Linked DNA regions of Homo sapiens: regions 2, 3 and 4 are each linked to region 1. The links are contacts of gene promoters, found by promoter capture Hi-C in blood cells and fetal thymus (Javierre and others, 2016). All regions are on one chromosome and are shown on one strand. The core of a region is centred on a gene start or on the middle of the fragment in contact, and the rest is flanking DNA. Distances in the headings are between cores, read along the strand shown.

Region 1 (3,053 bases), core at 358-2,857:
GGGTGGGAACAGCAGAGGCCCAGGGCTGGGGCTCGGTGGCCCGGGCAGGCACTCACCGTGGAAGGCACGCAGGTAGTTGTTGCCCAGGTACACCAGGTTCTCCAGGGCGGGGTTAAACTGCTCCATGATGCTCTGGACCCCAGGGTCAGGGGAGGAAAAAGGTGTAGAGATGGGGGAGCGAGAAGGAACCACGGATGGAGTCAAGTCACCAGGCGTCAGGGACAGGGCACCCCCAGCCCAGTGAGAAGCCCCAGACTTTGGGGGGCCCATCTACAAACCTAGGCTCACCCAGAATCCTGGCTCTTGGCTGCAGGGACCTCAGAGCCCATCTTTTGGGGTCCTGTTCTAAGCTGTGGTCCCCTCACAGCCAGCTCCCGCTTACGTCTGCTCTGGCGGGACCGAGGTGCCTCCCGAGATGGTGCACCTGGAAGGTTCTCCTCCTCCCGCTGGGCAGAAGCTGGCCCGCCTGCTGTGGTCCCCACTGGGCACGGCTCAGCCCTGCCCTGTGTCCAGGCCTTGCCGGGCTACACGCCTGGGGCTGCCAACAGTCACCCCCGGGGCAAGGGCAGCTCTCGCCCTCCTCCGAGAACAGCCCCCCATGGGCAAGGCTGTGGCTGGATTAGTGTGGGCCTCCTCGGGCTGGGGCCGGGCAGAGAGCTCCCCGGATGGTGAAGACGGGCCTGGACTTGGGCCTGGACTTGGACTTGGGTCTCGGTTCAAATCCCAGCAGCACCTCTTCCTCCCTCCGTGACCTTGAATGAGCTGTTTAACCTCTTTGGTCTCAGTTTTCTCATCTATCAAGCAGGGTGGTCATTTTCCACCTCACAGGTGGGTGGTGTGAGGCCTCCAGGTGAAAGGGTCCTGCACACAGGAGGCGCTCAATAAATGTCTGTGGCGGCTGCAACAACCCCCCGGGGGTGAAGTAGGAAGTCTGAGGGGCTCAGAAATGAGAGAGACAGAGACAGGGAGAGACAGAGAGAGAGAGAGAGACAGAGAGAGAGAGAGACAGAGAGAGAGAGAGACAGAGAGAGGGAGAGAGAGAGGGAGAGAGAGAGAGAGAGAGAGAGAGAGAGGGAGAGACAGAGAGAGAGAGGGAGGGTCTTTCTTTATTCCCAGGCCGGGCAGCCAGGCCCTTCTCATCCAGACTCAACTCTCCCCACCCTGGGCCTTGGGCTCCCTCCTGCCTTGTCCAGCATCTGGGAGTTGGGGGTTCCCGCTGTATGGCTGAGTGCTCTCGGGGATCCTTACCCCCGTACCCACCCCTGGCCCAGCCTGGCTCCAGGCTTCCCTTTCCAGGACATCTGTAGCCCCGGCTGGCCCTCCGTCCTCCAGAGCGGGCCTGATTTCTGTGCCCTGGGAGGAGGGGCTCAGGCCTGGCTTGGCCACCCATGTGCTCACCTTGTAGATGGCCATGGTGGACCTGTAGAACTGGTCCATCTCGGGGGCCATGGAGGGGCTGTCCCGGGTCTGAGCAGGAGGCTGGGAGCTGGTGGCGATGGCACAGCCGGGAGCAGTGGTAGGTAGTCCCTCAGGTGCCCACGACTCAGCTGGCAGCGAGGAAGCCTCGGAGAGGGACCTGGAGATGGAGGCCTGCCTCAGAGGAGTGGCAGCTTAATTATTCACCAACTCGGGATGTCAGAATGTGATCTGGGGCGTAACCAGATCCGGCAGGGAAGGCATCCTGTGCCGGGCAGGCTCGTGTGACCTGCCCTTCAATTATTCACCCCTTGGAGCTGTGGGCTGATACAAGTGCCCATGTGGATGAGCCCCCTCCTGGGTCACCCCCTCCTCAAGGACCCCAACCCTGGGGGGCCCCGCCCTCCCACCTGCCTATACCAGGCATTGCCCACCTTACTGGGCGGGCGCTGCCCGATGCCCTCCCCCAGGACTCTCTCTGCCAGACCCAGCAGCAGCAGCCCCTGGAGGGGAACGCCGCTTTACTTCTCACTGTCCTCAGGCCTGCGGCTCACAGTGGGGCCACGCCCTCTGAGCTTGGCTCCCACAGCCGCTCTGGCCCGCCCAGCTCCTCCACTTGCCGGAGCAGGAGCAGCACAAACGCTGGAGTTGCCCAGCCCTGGGCAGACCTCGGCCCTGCACACGCGCTGCCTGTCCACGCGGAGTCCCCGGCCTCTCTGGGTGACAAATGGGGCTCTCCCTGGTCCTCCAAGATGAAGTTGAAGATTGTGGCCCTCCTTGGGCCTGCCGGGGGTATGTGGGCCTGGCAGCTGCCTCTGCATACCCTAAGGGCCGGTTTAGGGGAGGCCTAGAGGAAAGAGGAGGTGTCCCTGCCCAGGGATCCTGGAAAACAGAGTGTCCGGGTACAAAGGAAAAGTCCGGTCAAGGCCAAGGGTCAAGGCCGAGGGGAGCCGGGGGTCAGGGGAACAGGTGGATCTCACACCACTGCACACACAACACAGGTGAACTTGAATCCAAATGATTTATTTCAGTTTTGGCTCTTAAGCCACTTCCATTGGGAAGAAGAAACTCCCAGGAGTGACCTTTGAGAGCTGAGGGTTCTCGGGGTGGGGCAGTGTGAGGGGCTGGGCCAGTGTGAGGGGCAAAGTCCAACGGGCATCCCACTCCTGCGGCCTGGGCTTTCCCAGCTGATGGGGTGGGGGACACCCATTTCTTTAGTCCCAGCCCCCAGGGAACGGAGCAGAGGGCAGAGGGAGTGGGCTGCACCCACCAGGAAGCCTGGGAGTGCCCTTGCTGGGGGCTGGGGCAGAGGCAGCCCGGCAGGCCCTCAGGGAGGCTGGGGCTGGGGGCAGGGGTACGGTTGTGCCCGGGTACCCTTAATGTTTGAGCTGATGGGGGAGTCAGTTGTCCTTGACAGTCAGGGAAAGGGGCCAAAGGGGGCTCTAGACTTTCCCAGCCTGGAATGACAGAAAGTGCTGGAAGGCGGGGTTAGTGGGAGACAGGCCTTCAGGACCAGCCTCGGGCAGGCAGCTTGGCATTCTCCCAGGCCTGGTCTATGGACTCAGAGGTGCCTGGGCCCAGATCTGCCCGGGAGGGCAGTGGCTGGGCTTGGCCTGGCAGGGGCTGAATGGACGAGG
Region 2 (3,053 bases), core at 304-2,803, 220 kb after region 1:
TTCCAATTTTCTGTGAATTGGAAGATGACTGTCCTAATTCTGTTTTAGAACATCAGAGACCCCTGGATACCCAATTGTTAGGGGAGCCTGCTAACCAGACTCCTGTCCTGGAGTGGCAAGCCAGGCAGAAAGGGATGACCTTGAGGGGGGGGTCACAGACCCTTTCTACAAGATTATTTTAATGCTAATGCTCAGACACTCCCAACAGGGCTCAGAGCCCTTTTGCTCTCATCCAGTGAGAGCGTGCTGTGGGTGCACATTACAAAAAAGCCCGGTTAGAGAAACGGAGCAAGCCCCCCAGGGTCTAGAAATGGATGGCTCTGGGAAATGGGGATTTCCTATCCCACTGAGGTGTGGCCACAGGTTCCCAGCACCCAGACCCCCTCTGAAGATGGCCAGGGAGTTAAGAAGATGAGGGGCCAGGGTGGGGGTGTACAGTCAGAGACTGAGCAGGCCTTTCAAAGTGGGAGGAGGGCCTGGTAAGTAGGTAGCTGGGGAGTTATTATTCCCATTTCACAGTTGAGGAAACGGAGGCCCAAAGCACAGAGACTTCTGTTTTCTCTAAGCAAAGATTAGCCTGGTACAAGTACAGCTGATGACCCAGCCCTGACATCCTCCTCTCCCTAACTCCCCCATCCAGGCATTTGGTGTAGACACCCCTGAGGGAGTTAGGAGCCCTGGGGGCCAAACCGACTCGGTTACTGTTTCCCATGTGGATCTTGAACAAATCACCTGTCTTCTGAGCCTGTTTCCTCATCTGTACAAGGGGTTGGTTACTATGCCCCACCTTCACCCCTTCCTATTTTTCTTCTAATCCCCTCACTCTGAAGCTTGCCCAGAAACTCATCCCAAAGGGGCGAACCCATCTGGAGGCCTGGAGGTCATTGGCCCTGGCTCAGGGATCCTGTCTGCTCCCAGCCCACAAGGAGCGGATATGCGCCGACCTAGTGGTTCGTGTCCACCTGGCCCAGACTCAGAGATGTCTTCATTCTGGGGGTTTTCCCAAGAGCTCATCCCCGTCCTTCTCTCCCCAGCACTTCCCGTTCTCTGGTCCCTCAATACCTTCAGTTGGTCCAAGTCCTTTCTACAAACACACAAACATGCAGACCCTTTTTCTGCCAGACCCATGATGGCGGTGTTTGTGGGGACAGGGCCTACATAATTTAGCTCATTTAATCTTCACAACACCCTGGGGAGGTAGCTCTATGTACCCACTTTCCAGATGTGGAAACTCATGGTTAGAGAGAGCAAAGGTCTTTATCCAGATCCCAGTGTTGGCGGTGGAGGTCTTGGCCTGTTTTTTTCTGTTACATCTCCCGGTCTCCCTTCATAATCTTCCATGGAGTGTTCAGAATGGTACCCAACCATGGTCAATCTCTCAAATGTTACATTATGCAGCCATTAAAACAATGATTACACATACACAAATGACTCACCACAACGAGAAAATGCTTATGACACAATATTCAAGGGAAAAGCAGGACATAAAAGTTGCAGATACAGTATGATAAAATTATATGAAAATGGTTGTGCATGGAAAAAAGACTGAAAGGAAACACACCAAAATATCCAGAGTGATTGTGTCCTGGTACTATGGATGATTTCTTTCCTACTTTTCTACATTTGCCAAATAGTCAATCGGCATACAGTTTTACAACAAAGAAAAGGCACCAATGATAATAATGATAATAATAAAAAGAATTATAGGGCCGGGTGCGGTGGCTCACGCCTGTAATCCCAGCACTTTGGGAGGCCGAGGAGGGCGGATCACCTGAGGTCAGAGTTTGGAGACCAGCCGAAACCCTGTCTCTACTAAAAACACACAAAAATTAGCCGGGCGTGGTGGTGCATGCCTGTAATCCCAGCTACTAGGGAGGCCGAGGCAGGAGAATTTCTTGAACCCGGGAGGCAGAGGTTGCAGTGAGCCGAGATCGTGCCAGCAACAGAGTGAGCCTCCGTCTCAAAAAAACAAAACAAACAAATAAATAATAAGAAGAATGATAACAATACATTTGCGGTTGAAATATTTGGAAACCTGCTGCTTCCTCTTCAACTTCCTCTCCTTCAATTCCCTCCAAAGTCTACGTTTTCAGGACAACGTGACTATAACCCAGAGACAAGGGAGGATTTGGGGGGAGCAGGCAGTATCTCCACAGACCCACGCCCACCTCCTCCTCCTCTCCTTTGACCCGGTTCTCCTCTCCGTCGAGTGAGGACCCCCACCCCGGGCCCTCCTCCTCCCAGCACCTACCCCCAGCTGCTGCTGGCGCTCACCTGAAGCTTGCTGGCCGGCCTTCGAGATGCGAAGTGCGCACACCTGTGCCTGCAGGTGAGGACTCCGCTGGGGAGCGCTCCGGGAGGAGGGAGCCGGCCGGGGGCGGGGCCGCGACGTCACCGGCCCAGCCCCGCGCCGCTTCCCGGCCCCGCCCCGCCCCGCCCCGCCCCGGTTTCCCGGCCCCGGGGGTTTCGTGGTTCTCATGCTTGCGGGGTGAGGCGCTGGGACACTTCTCCCGGCACGCACGCCCCACATGGCCTGGGCCCCGGGCGTCAGCCGCGCCCGCCTTGGAGGCGCGGTCCTCCAAGTGCGGCCCTCCAAGTGCGGTCCTCGGGGGTGGGCGGACTGAAAGGGGAGGTCCCACTCTCCCAGATGAGCATCTTTCTGATCTCCCAGATCGGAAAGAGCTGGGATCCCCCACCCCACCTCCACCCCTGGGTTACTTAGAACTCTTGGGGCCTCGGACTTCAGGTTCAGATCACCTGGAGTAAGGGATGACCTCCGAGGGATGAGGAGCCTCCGAAAGGCCTGTTTCCTTCTCCTCGCAGCCCACTCTACTTCTCTCCGGCCCGCTCCAACACCTAAGAGAGAGATAGGGACATGGAGATCGGGGTGTTTGGGTCAAGTTATCTTTGGATCTGACACCTGCGCTCCGGAAACTTTCCATCTTCTTTGTATTATCTGAGACTGCTTGTATTTGGCAAATTTTTTTCTTGAAAATATCAGCCTGCTGGTGGTGGCAGAGATAAGGGTCTCCGCTCTGTCGGACAGGTTCCAG
Region 3 (3,053 bases), core at 287-2,786, 190 kb after region 1:
CGGTCACTGGTCTGGAACAGGACCAGGTCTGTGTGACCGACCGCAGGCTTTACATTACCCAGGGCAGGCCAGACGTGGTGGATCATGCCTGTGATCCCGTGTTAATTCCCATCTTGGGAGGCCAAGATGGGAAGACTGCTCAAGGCCAGGAGTTTGAGACCAGCCTGGTCAACACAGTGAGACCCCCATCTCTATTTCTTACAATTAAATGATATTTTTGAAATAAATAAATAAAACTACCCCAGGCAGAGTCCCAGGCCCTGACTCGGCAGGTCTGGAGTTGGGCCTGAAATCACATTTTAAATAAACAACTTGGCTGGGCACGGTGGCTCACGCCTGTAATCCCAGCACTTTGAGAGGCTAAGATGGGCGGATCACTTGGTAAAACTCTGTCTCTACTAAAAATACAAAAATTAGCCCAGCGTGGTGGCAGGTGCCTGTAATCCCAGCTACTCATGAGGCTGAGGCAGGAGAATCGCGTGAACCTGGGAGGCGGATGTTGCAACGAGCTGAGATCGCACCACTGCGCTCCAGCCTGGGCGACAGAGTGAGACTCCGCCTCAAAAAATAAATAAACACCTACAATTCTATAGCCAGTGGACAAGGTCCCCTGGCCCAGGCCCATCCTCTGGCATCCTCTGGGGGCAGGAGGCAGGGCTGGTATCCTGGGCCCACAGGCATCTGGCTGGGGATGGAGGGGACGGGGACTCACCATCTGGTCGGCCAAGAGCAGCACCGTCTTGAGGCTGAATTTGCGGGAACAGAAGTTGAACAGGTCCTCGAGGCTAGGCCCCAGCAGCTCCATGACCATCACGTTGTAGTCGCCCTCAGCTCCGCACCACTTGATGGACGGGATCCCCACTGGGGGTCAAGCAGAGGGCCTCTGTCAGGGGTCAGAGGCAGGCAGCCAGCCACGCCCGGCCCACCCTGTGCTCATGGCTGCCCACCGCCACCCACCCGGCGCCCGCCGCCGCCCACCCTGCGCTCACCGCCACCCTGCATCATCTTGTAGAACTTGCTCTCGATGTGCAGCTGGGGGTGCTTTGTCTTCACACACTCCAGCTTGATGGCGACTTCCTCACCAGAGGCGATGTTGGCACCTGCCCGGGGCAGGGAGGCAAGGGACCAGGGTCACCCTCAAAGGCCAGGCAGTCCCAGGCGCCCCACTAAGCATTTCTGAGATCTGGCGTGTGCCGGGCCCGGGGCCATCTGCCCTTGAGGAGCTCTTGGGGGAGGCTGGGAAGGGGGCAAAGGAGCCCCGGCAAAGGGTTCCTGAGGGGAAAGAAGGTCAGCGCTGTGAGGGACAGAGGTGACACACAAGGGCTACCCAGGGCCACAGGTTGGGGCGACAAGAAGGCCCGATGTGAGTGGGGCAAGGGTCAGGTATGCAAAAGGCTCACAGACCACCTAAGGGAGGGGGCTGAGTCCTAGAGCAAATTCAGGCAGTGAGGTCTGTCGGGTTGAGATGGTGGCACGTGCAGAAGAGGCCCAATGGGGCTGGGCTGCCGAACACACCAGAACAAGCCAGGACCACCCTGGCCTACAGGATGAGGATGGGACAGCCGCAGCAACCCCTCAGTCAATGCTGATGCCTTCAGAGGCAGCCCTGCACATTCTAATCCAGTGTCTCATTCGATTCTCAACCCCCTTGTAGAGATGAGAAAACAGAGACCCAGCTAGAGACCCAGCTCAAGGTCACCTGACCTGTAAATGGCGGCCTTGAGATCAACCCCGGCTCTGCTGGCCTCCAGCATAGGTCAGAGGTCCTGCCTGCACCTCCCCGTCTCCCCCAGTCCACTCCTGGCTTCTCAAGGGGCTCTAAGAAAATACCCTCACACACACCAAGGCCCCGCTCTCTGCCTGGGCCCACTGCCCAACTCAAGAAGTCACAAGAAAGACCAAGCCCAAAGTGTACCTTGCCTCAGTTTCCCTGGCTGTATGGGTGGATGAGATGAAGGGCTGGGGCTAGGCTGGGCGACAGGGTGTCTCCTTCCTGGGGCCAGCAGCGAGCCCAGCAGGAGGAGTAGGACAGTGTCGCAACAGGACACAAACAGGCCAGAACAACCCCCAGGGACACAGCCTCAGGAGGAGTTCAAGACAGGAGAAAGGCAGGACCTCACATCAGAGGAAAAGATGAGACTGTTCATTAATAATGTCCCTGAACAACCGGCTGGCCACCTGAGAAAAGACACCATGGCTCACACCACAACCAGGAGAAATCTCAAGTAGAGGAAAAGTTTGTATATAAGAAATAAAGGTGTGGGTGTGAGTTGGCACAGCCCCTGTGCACCTCTTGGGTGAAGCTGAACATAAACAAACGCTCGCCCAAGCAACCCCACTCCTGAGTGTACATCCTTCAGAAACACGTGTGCACCAGGGGGACAGGACAAGGATGGACACAGGAGCAAACAGCCCAAGTGCTCAGCAGCAGAAGAACAGGAACAGTGGCGCAGTCACCAGGGAATCCCAGGCGGCAGTGAAGAGGAAAGGATGCCTGCTTCACACAATGACCCTGGTCCCAGGGGTGCACTCCTCACAGCAGCCAGAGGGTGGAAACAACAAACATCTGTCACAGATGCAAGGATGAATGGAATGCAGTGCCTCCATGCGGCGGAATATTATTCAGCAATAAAGAGGAATAAAGTACCGATACACGCTACGACACGAGTGCACCTTGAAAACATTCTACCCGAGGCCAGGCACAGTGGCTCACGCCCGTAATCCCAATACTTTGGGAGGCTGAGGCGGGTGGATCACAAGGTCAGGAGTCCGAGACCAGCCCAGCCAAGGTGGTGAAACCCTGTCTGTACCAAAAATACAAAAATTAGCCGGGCGCAGTGGCAGGCATCTGTAATCCCAGCTACTTGGGAGGCTGAGGCAGGAGAATCACTTGAACCCAGGAGGCGGAGGTTGCAGTGAGCCGAGATTGTGCCATTGCACGCTAGCCTGGGTGACGGAGTGAAACTCCAGCTCAAAAAAAAAAAAAAAAAAAAAAAAAAGAAGAGTGCAAGCACAGTTCTACTTGTTTCCATATCAAAACAGGCAACAAGACT
Region 4 (3,053 bases), core at 167-2,666, 160 kb after region 1:
TAAATCAAATCATACTTACATGCTCTGAGGTTACTGCTATTAAAATTATCTAACCTATGCATCCTGCATCTACCTTTCTTCTCAAAGCAAATATGTACTGTTTTGGAAAATCTAGATTTTCCCACATCCTATTTAAACTCCATTGACAAATCTGTGTATAGATGCACTTTCTCCTCCTGGAGATGAGGCTAGGACCCCACATGCTCTGGGAAGTGGTCACGAGACCTCTGCTCCTTGAGTAACCTGCCTGTCTCATTCCTCTGTGTGTGCTCAAGGTGGTCCCACTCCCTGCAAAGACCTCCTGCACTTCACCTGCCAACCTCCACTGTCCACTGAGCCTCAGCCCAACTACCCTTGTTCCAGAGAGCACCGGCTCCTCAGCTCACCCCCAGGCAGAGCCGACTGCTGCCTCCTGGAACCCCCATGGTTTTAACCTGAAGCTTTATTCACGTGCTTTCCAGGTCTAAGCAGCAATCCAATACACTGGCCTTCCCAGTGTGGCTGCAAGCTCTCCAAGGGCAGGTCTGTGTTGGGGGTAGCTACTCAGCAGGAAGGGCCCAGGACTCAAAACCAGAAAACCTGGGTGCTTCCTCCCCCAGGATCTTAGGCAATTCACCCCTCTGAGCCTCAGTCTCTCCATCTATAAAATAGGTGCAATAATTTCAAGGTTTCAGGGCAGTTAAAAGGATTACATAAAACCATATATTTGAAATATAACTTGCAAAGCCCCACAAATTCCAATGAGAATATTAATATAACTAGCATGTTAATATTAATTAATATCCTCACACATACCCTTCACCAACATCTATCATTGTGCCTCGCAGGCACCCAAACTGACTGCTGATGGGATCCCAGATTCACTGCTCACTCTGCATGAAACAAAAACCACAGGCGCTAGAGGTGGGGACCAGGAGGCTCTGCCAGTAGCTACAGCGGCGCCATGGGGTTAGTTATTTTCTCTCGGAGCTTTTCGGTAAATGGGGAACAGCCCTGCTGAGTGGAGTGGAGGTTCTCAGCCACTTGCCAGCAGGAGAGGCCCCATTCTGGGTGCAGGCAGTCCACAGGGGTTGGAGCAGGAGATAAATAAAGGTACCAAGCTCCACACACGTCCCTTGGAGTAGGGGGGCTGTCTGATCTGAAAATCCCTTTGAGGGTAACAGAGGCAGTAACTTCCGGAGGTCTCACTGCACCCCCTCTGTTGGGGAGGGGGACCATCTGGGACTGCCCATGACCCGCAGGTAAAGGGTCTGTGGATCCTGGCTTCCCAGAGAGGAGGCTGGAGTCTTCAGGAGATCACCAAGCATTTTAAGTTGGAAAAGAAGCAACAGGCACACGTGCTTCCACGTTTCTCCTTCAGTCTTCATGGTCATGTGACCTGCCCTATCTCCAAACCACAACCTTGGGAGCTAAAGGCGTTCAAATCAAGGACTTCACCAGAGCCTGTGAGGTGGGCAGACAGGGTACGAATAGCGCCCCTTGCCTTAGCAGGAGTGAAGCTCAAAGAGGGCAAGTGGCTTGCCCAAGGTCACAGCTGGGTTTCCTGACTCAATCCAGTGCCCTGTTCACCACTGCTGCAACGGTGCCGTCCAGCTAAAAAAAAGGCTGAAGACCTCATCTTTCCTGCAGAGAATTTGAAACAAAGCGCAAGAGCTGTTTTAGAACTTCTCTGATTCTTTTCTATCTATAGCTACCTTTCAAATGCTATGGGTAAATGTTTATAACCCGGTGTTAAGTAAACAATGAGATAACGTGTGTTCATGCCTAGAAAGAACATCTGCCCAAACCTGAACCATGATTACTTCTTGATTTGGAAATTTGGGGTAATTTTTATTCTTATCCCCAATCTTTCCTGTGCTTCAAGTTTACTATCAACAAGTACGGCCGGGTACGGTGGCTCACGCCTGTAATCCCAGCACTTTGGGAGGCCGAGGCGGGTGGATCAAGAGGTCAGAAGATCGAGACCATCCTGGCTAACACGGTGAAATCCTGCCTCTACTAAAAATACAAAAAATTAGCCGGGCGCCGTGGCAGGTGCCTGTACTCCCAGCTACTCGGGAGGCTGAGGCAGGAGAATGGCTTGAACCCGGGAAGCGGAGCTTGCAGTGAGCCGAAATCGCACCACTGCACTGTCTGCCTGGGCGACAGAGCAAAACTCTGTCTCAAAAAAAAAAAAAAAACAAGTACTACTTCTAATCTCAGAGAAGCCTATTGTTTTTCAAAGGTACAAGACTGAGATCAACGTGGCAAACTTTTCACCAAATATTCACTTAGTGGGATGTGACTTTGTAAAACATGGTTGAGCTGGAAGTGACGCAGGTTCAGCACAAAGGCTTTCTGGGTGGATCTTCCCCTGTGGTTTCCACCCCAGAGAAGGAAAAGGAGGTGTCCACCAAGCTTCCTGTCTCCCATCACAGGCCTAAGACCTCCCACACCAGCCAGCCAGACTCAAGGCTGTTTAGTGAGCACCACCGGCTCCTGGAATAACCAATCCTGTTCCAACCACCCCTAATATCTTTTTTTTTTTTTTTTTGAGATGGAGTTTCGCTGTCACCCAGGCTGGAGTGCAATGGCGTAGTCTCAGCTCACTGCAACCTCCGCCTCCCAGGTTCAGGCAATTCTCCTGCCTCAGCCTCCCAAGTAGCTGGGTTTACAGGCACATGCCACCACACCTGGCTGATTTTTGTATTTTTAGTAGAGACGGGGTTTCACCATGTTGGCCAGGCTGGTCTCCAATTCCTGAGCTCAAGTGATCTGCCCACCTCGGCCTCCCAAAGTACTGGGATTACAGGTGTGAGCCACCGCACCTAGCCATATCCGTCATTTTTCAAGAATAATTATAGCTTTATCCTGAGTGGCAGTGCCACAAACCCATCCAACCATTCATTTGTTTATTCAAAAACCACTTCACTACCTACTGTGTACATTTCGCCAGACACTGAGCCATGATTAACCTAAGACTAGAAAAGTCACCAACCAGAAGCCACGCACCATCCTTCTATGCCATACCCAAGCATAGGGCTTCAGCCACCCTAAAACAGCAGCAAATAGAC

What was found. The method cuts DNA at HindIII sites, captures the fragments that hold promoters and counts their contacts. A CHiCAGO score of 5 or more calls a contact.
Region 2: a contact is called between a fragment that was not itself captured here and the fragment with the promoter of BAIAP2L2 in region 1, in 1 of 17 cell types (M0 macrophages). The highest score is 5.0, in M0 macrophages.
Region 3: a contact is called between a fragment that was not itself captured here and the fragment with the promoter of BAIAP2L2 in region 1, in 3 of 17 cell types (endothelial precursors, M2 macrophages and M1 macrophages). The highest score is 6.6, in endothelial precursors.
Region 4: a contact is called between a fragment that was not itself captured here and the fragment with the promoter of BAIAP2L2 in region 1, in 2 of 17 cell types (M0 macrophages and M2 macrophages). The highest score is 8.6, in M0 macrophages.

What each region holds. Positions count from the first base shown.
Region 1 is chr22:38,109,077-38,112,129 of GRCh38, forward strand. It overlaps BAIAP2L2 (BAR/IMD domain containing adaptor protein 2 like 2), which reads right to left and starts at 1,608. Exons shown (of 14, transcript NM_025045.6): 1 at 1,399-1,608; 2 at 57-132. The coding sequence starts at 1,449. PLA2G6 (phospholipase A2 group VI) reads right to left here. Exons shown (of 17, transcript NM_003560.4): 17 at 2,419-3,053. The HindIII fragment of the contact is 13,026 bases long and covers 1-3,053 here.
Region 2 is chr22:38,333,851-38,336,903 of GRCh38, forward strand. TPTEP2-CSNK1E (TPTEP2-CSNK1E readthrough) reads right to left here. Exons shown (of 15, transcript NM_001289912.2): 5 at 2,758-2,856. Among named protein-coding and RNA genes, the nearest start is that of CSNK1E, 18 kb to the left of the region's middle. The HindIII fragment of the contact is 1,450 bases long and covers 829-2,278 here.
Region 3 is chr22:38,302,149-38,305,201 of GRCh38, forward strand. It overlaps TPTEP2-CSNK1E (TPTEP2-CSNK1E readthrough), which reads right to left. Exons shown (of 15, transcript NM_001289912.2): 7 at 990-1,100; 8 at 713-861. CSNK1E (casein kinase 1 epsilon) reads right to left here. Exons shown (of 11, transcript NM_152221.3): 3 at 990-1,100; 4 at 713-861. Among named protein-coding and RNA genes, the nearest start is that of CSNK1E, 14 kb to the right of the region's middle. The HindIII fragment of the contact is 3,411 bases long and covers 1-3,053 here.
Region 4 is chr22:38,264,920-38,267,972 of GRCh38, forward strand. The region is part of intron 1 of TMEM184B (transmembrane protein 184B); the gene reads right to left. Among named protein-coding and RNA genes, the nearest start is that of TMEM184B, 6.6 kb to the right of the region's middle. The HindIII fragment of the contact is 1,957 bases long and covers 439-2,395 here.